Regions from separate parts of the Homo sapiens genome. Here region 1 is linked to region 2. Evidence: promoter capture Hi-C in 16 types of primary human blood cells and fetal thymus (Javierre and others, 2016). All regions are on one chromosome and are shown on one strand. The core of a region is centred on a gene start or on the middle of the fragment in contact, and the rest is flanking DNA. Distances in the headings are between cores, read along the strand shown. Region 1 overlaps RABGAP1 (RAB GTPase activating protein 1). Region 2 holds the start of RC3H2 (ring finger and CCCH-type domains 2).

Region 1 (2,912 bases), core at 9-2,508, 130 kb before region 2:
TGAAGGGATCAATATTTCCTTCTAGGAGAAATTAAGCATTTAGAGAAGTGACTTGCCCTCATTTACAAAACTACTTAATTAGAAACAGAAGCCTACATTTTTTTATTCTCAGTTCCAACTTCATTTTTACTATATGATGCCCTTTTGTCATGCAAATTTTGAAGAAAGGCCAAATGACTCGTTTACAGCCATAAGAAATGTCTACAATATTTCCAAGGTCTGCAACATAATATTAATAATATATAAATTTAATATAAATACTTAATATTTTTTTCTTCAACCTGAAATGAAAAAAATTACACAAAAGTCAACACACAAAATGATTTATGAGGACTTCAAAAAATCTCAATGCCACAGTTTTCCCATTCTTAAATTTCCCAAAATTTGCTCATGTAACAATACATTTTGGCTTGCTGGTAATTTCACCAACAACTATGAAACAAAAACATACTCAGTGAAATTAAAACAATTCCTATACCAAGTCAACATGCAGATTTTTCAAACAAACCTGAAAAGCTGAGGAAACCCTCCTAGAAACCACTCCACCATCTGGGCCATCTGGGAGTCTAACCCTGCTGCTTCATTTTCAAGTTCAAGGAGGTGGGCAATGCATTTACGGTAAAAAAAAATTCAAGTTTTCCCAATCCTTAAAATACTGAGACCATTATTCAAGTAAAAAGTAAAAGCCATTATAAAAGGCTTGAAAAGAATTTATCCAGCAATAAAGCTTAAAGAAAACCTTTTCCAAAATGGAATTTTGAGTAAGAGTCAATAGGCCCGTGAAAAAAACGCAAATATCCAATCTAGTGTCAGGATAATGCTCTCACTAAAGTTGAGCACACTAGTCCATTTGTAATTGCTTTTCTACTCTAAGAAGGGGGAAAAAACCACTTTCACTGAAATCACTGCATTAAAAAATACAACTAGTTTACAAATATAACATCAGTATAATCCTACTTTAAAATTTACTATGAAATAATTTCAACATAATCACCAAAAGTATATGTTTCCTCTGATACCAGTCACATGCCATATAAAGTTAAATGAGCTATCCCGCCAACGCCATGGTAACTGAATCTAAAAATACATTTTTTTTGAAGTCAGACTGGTATTTAAACTAAATGTCATCAAATGTTGCATTAAATATGCCAGGATGAAAAGTTCAGTTAAACATGAACTTTCCAAATATATCACACAGAAAACACCCCCAGCCACTAAAGGGGACACTACTGTGTCCAGGAGCATCTCCTCTCTCCCAACACATACACACACAACAAAATAAGATCAAACCTGCTGATTTAATATCAATTTTTCAACAAAAATTAAGTGTTTAAAATTGCCATATTTTCTAAACTAAAAATTCATAAGCAAACTGCAAATGTGAACAGGTTACATTCTCTAACATGTATGAAAAAAGGTAAATTTTGGTTTTTTAGATCTGTACCACTTAAAGGGAAAATGTATACAATACAACCATTTTTCAGAATCTAACAGAAAAGGTTTCCCATTTGAAATGGCAATTTAACCAAGCCATTTCTAACATAACTTGCAATTTCAGTATGAGTTCTAAATTTTGAAGCAGCTTAGAATAAAATTTGCTAACACTAAACATAAAGAGCAAGCAAGGTTTTGGGAAAAACCCAGAATCTGAAGTTTGAATGTTTATGTAATGCTTAGTCACTTAAAATAAAAAAGTTTAAATAGAACACAACTGAGGTTAAAATCAAGTTGATGTCTAAAGCCTAAAATCATAAGAACACTGGCATCATGATGGAAAACCAAAGCTTATCTGCCTGCTTTATAAATATCCATGTCCTTTCTTGGATTCAGAAATCCACTTTAACCCATGTCCCCTGGGTTTCTTCCATCTTCCATCTCACTGAACACCACTGTCGCATTCAGATTACAACCTCTAGCCAAAGGCAGAGATCAAGTAAGTCCCTTGAAGACTTCCAGAACATTTCCAGAACAGCAGAAAAGTAGAGGAAATACTCTCGTGCCTGGAGCTGCCGGAATTCCTTCTCTCCTTTTAGAAAAATAAACCTCTTGCTCTAAAGATAATCACTTTTAAGAACAAACATCACTACTACATACAAACACACATAACTCTCAATAATAATTCTATAGAAGAATTATAAAATCCTATAGGTTTTTCTAGTACTTTGGCAGGAAAAAAAAAAAAGACCATTAAGAACTGTATGCCAAAGGATTTTTTTTCCAGAGAGAAAATAGCAATAAGAGACTTAAGTGTTTTCCCTTCTCCTCTTCAAATGTGGATTCCTTAGCACTAACTGAAAGAATACTTTTCAAAAATAACTAGTTGATTCCATTTAACCACAAAGAAAATGTCTCAACTACCTTGTATTTTAAAAAAACAATCTGTATACTACGGTATACTTTCTGACTCAGTTGCTTATGACCGACACCCTTCTCCCTGATGTTCTAATATTTCAGAAGTCTTTGAATAGAAAGAACAGACAATATTAAAGACACATTTTTGTATATAGTCACCATTATAAAATGGACAGCCAACAGCCTATCACTGAATTACTTTTTAGCTTAAGCACATTTTGCTGTAAAAGAGAAATCTAACAATTCAGATATTCTAAATATAGACATAACACAAAGGCATGGGCAAAAGTACTACACGATTACTTCTACGCACACATATCTTTAGATCTCTGTGAAGCATGGCACAAAAAGTAGCTCAGTTTTTCATAAATTGTATAATTTGATTGCACTTTTGCTTCATGGTTCACTGTAAAATTCTAAAATTAATGTTTATGTGTTCACATTATTCACCCTACTGAGAATTCTCTCAAGAGAATAAAACACAGAACATTTGGCTTTCTAAATGACAGTGTTGAAACTTGCAGTGTAGTTATGCTTTGGCATACATAAAAAGTAATTTC
Region 2 (2,757 bases), core at 215-2,714:
CATATGTTTCATAAAGAGAAGAGAACGAAAAAGATAATGTGTGGAAGAAACGTCTTCGATGTGGCCAATGAATCTTTTTTCAAAAACACTGATTTTTGCCTGTCATTCAGACAAATATAATAGGTAATAACTATATATTTTGTTAAAACTGTAGAAGCAACCTTTCCATATTCTAATTTATCGTAGGTTTACTTCGATATTTTTGTTGTTGGGCATCTGATTTCACATTGGAAAGTGCCTTGAGTTTAATTACAAGTCATGGTCATTTTTTTTCTTCTTTTTTTTGTTGAGACGGAGTCTGGCACTGCCCCCCCGCCTGGCTGTAGTGCAATGGCGCGGTCTCGGCTCACTGCAACCTCCGTCTCCCGGGTTCAAGTGATTCTCCTGCCTCAGCCCCCCGAGTAGCTGGGATTACAGGTGCCCGCCACCACACCCGGCTAATTTTTGTATTTTTAGTAGAGCCAGGGTTTCACTATGTTGGCCAGACTGGTCTCTAACTTCTGACCTGGCGGTCCACCCGCTTCGGCCTCCCAAAGTGCTGGTATTACAGGCATCAGCCACCGCGCCCGGCGTCATGGTCATTTTCTAGCCTACATTCTTTAGTTTCTCATCAGTAACAAGGGGTACATTGTATCTGTCTTCTAGGATCACTTTGCTAATTAAATGAAATGTAAATAAAACTAAAATATTTAAAATTAAATATCACCTAACACAGGACCTGCCTGACACATACTAAGTAGTTTATAAATGTTAATTCTGATATCCCTATTCCAAGTCTGTTTCATCTATAAATTATAAACTGTAAGAATAATTCTTACCTTAGTTCGCTGTGTAAAAAGCTTCAACAAATATTTGAGATATGATGCCAGAATTTGTGCTTAAATTTTTTATTTTTGCCAGCTTTTGAGGAGCTCAGAGCTTTCTTCCCCCCCTCCCCCCCCCACTTTGGACTCTTTGTCTAGAAACAGAGTTTTCTCTTTAATAAAGAAGTGAGATGTGGAAGTGCCTGCCAAATACATGTTTTCTTCTTGTTTTTGTAATGGGGAGATTACTTGACATCTTTGTAAAGGGATTGAGGGATCCTGTCGGCATGTCATCACAGGAGTGTGAAGAAGAATGTGACACAGATGTATCAGATTCTGCTCAATGGATTCCACGCTTTTCACGAAGGGAGTTAAGACACTCGCTCAAACCAGCGTCTAGGAAGCCGGCTCAAGGCGCAGATGAATGTGCAGGGAATTTCCCATCAATCCCTTCGGCTTGCCTAGTCCTTCTCACAGTACCTCCCACAGTGCTCCGGGGCTCCCTTGTCACGTGATCGGGGTGGATCCGCTGAGGCAGAGGGAAGTTGATTCGCAGTTTGGGTGGCTGGGGCTACTACGCTTTCCTTCCAACTCCCGACTCCCGGGCTTGCGTAATCTCGCGTTAAGTGGGGAGTAACTTCTCGCGAGAGCTAGATCGGGATCCCTCCAGGTCCGCCTCCGTGGTGAGGAGGAGGAGGAGGAGGAGGCGGAGGTGGAGGGAGGAGGAGGAGGCCCCGTCGCGGCCTTCGCCGCCGCCAACGGGGCTGTCCCTGTAGCTCCCGATGGAGTTTGAGGTCGTGAAACCTCCGCCGAGCTCTGCCCCGGCGAGACGAGGCGCCTCCGTCGCCAAGCCGCGCCGTCGCGGGGCTCCCGGGAGCGGCCCTTAGCGACCCCGCCCGGGCCCCCTCAGGTAGGGCGGGGGCGGGCACGATGCGGCTCGGGCCCCAGCCCGGGTGCCTGGTCCCCGGCGGTCGGGCGGGAGACCAGTCTCAGCCCTGGGGCCTGTGCGCTGTCGCCCCTGGTGCCTCGAGGGTTGGGAACTGAGGGCCGCACCTGACACTCGGATGGAACCCGGGCCCTGCGGAGGCCCCTCTCTCTGGTAGGGCTTTTTCGATGCGGAGCGACCGGCTCAAATGGCCACCTTCCTTCGACACTGGCCGAGCGGACGCCTCTGACCCCTAACGAACCCACCCAAGCAAAGGCCCGGCTTCACTCTCCCTTTTCTACACCAGTTAGTAAGGGGGTTTGGAAGAGGTCCTCGAAACCAAGTCTTCTCCTAGCTTTTCAGCTTTCTGCCCTGGGGCTTCCCGAGACCCTAGCGTAGAGGGTGGTGGAGGCGATCTGAGTGGTAAATAGGAACCCCGGCCAAACAATGCCCTGGGAGGGCTTAACCTCCCAGGATGGGGACGGCCGGACCTGAGTGGTTGCACAGGGGTTGTGGCTAGGAGCAATGGCATGAAACACAGCCAGGAAATTCTGCTATGGCTTTCTTCTTTCCCTCTCTCATTTTTCCTTTTTGGTGTAGCCTCTTGAGGAGACTCTTCCACCATCTTAGAAGAATGGTAGAAAGCATCTTTGTTTCCCAGAGAAGCAGCTGTACTTTTTTCTATCCTTAGCTTTCAGGATGGGAGAAGATGAGGGTAGCTGTCATTTCCATCCTTCAAATCCCAAGGCAGCCGTTTAAGATACCGGCAGATAAATCCTTCACACCAAAATTGACTCAAGTAATCACTGGCATAAAGTAAATCTAATCCAGTGATTTATTTATATTTTCATAACCCTTGGGTTCCCTTTTTAATTCCTCCTCTCCCCTTACCCACGGCCTTCCTTTTTTTCATTTCTACTCTCCCCCTACCCATTGTGGGTGGGTGAGTTTGTATCCCAAATAAAGTGCTTTAAGTAATCTTTTTTCCAATTTTGTATTGGCCAAACTTTTAAGTTCCAGTAGGAACTT

Evidence for each region. Contacts are between HindIII fragments. The CHiCAGO score rates a contact against its expected background, and 5 or more counts as called.
Region 1: a fragment that was not itself captured here is called in contact with the fragment with the promoter of RC3H2 in region 2 in 1 of 17 cell types (megakaryocytes); the score reaches 5.5 in megakaryocytes.

What each region holds. Positions count from the first base shown.
Region 1 is chr9:123,036,087-123,038,998 of GRCh38, reverse strand. The region is part of intron 13 of RABGAP1 (RAB GTPase activating protein 1); the gene reads right to left. It also overlaps a transcript of GPR21 not described here. Among named protein-coding and RNA genes, the nearest start is that of GPR21, 3.9 kb to the right of the region's middle. The HindIII fragment of the contact is 1,057 bases long and covers 730-1,786 here.
Region 2 is chr9:122,904,066-122,906,822 of GRCh38, reverse strand. It overlaps RC3H2 (ring finger and CCCH-type domains 2), which reads left to right and starts at 1,464. Exons shown (of 21, transcript NM_001100588.3): 1 at 1,464-1,713. RefSeq lists a silencer at 1,360-2,009. The HindIII fragment of the contact is 2,040 bases long and covers 842-2,757 here.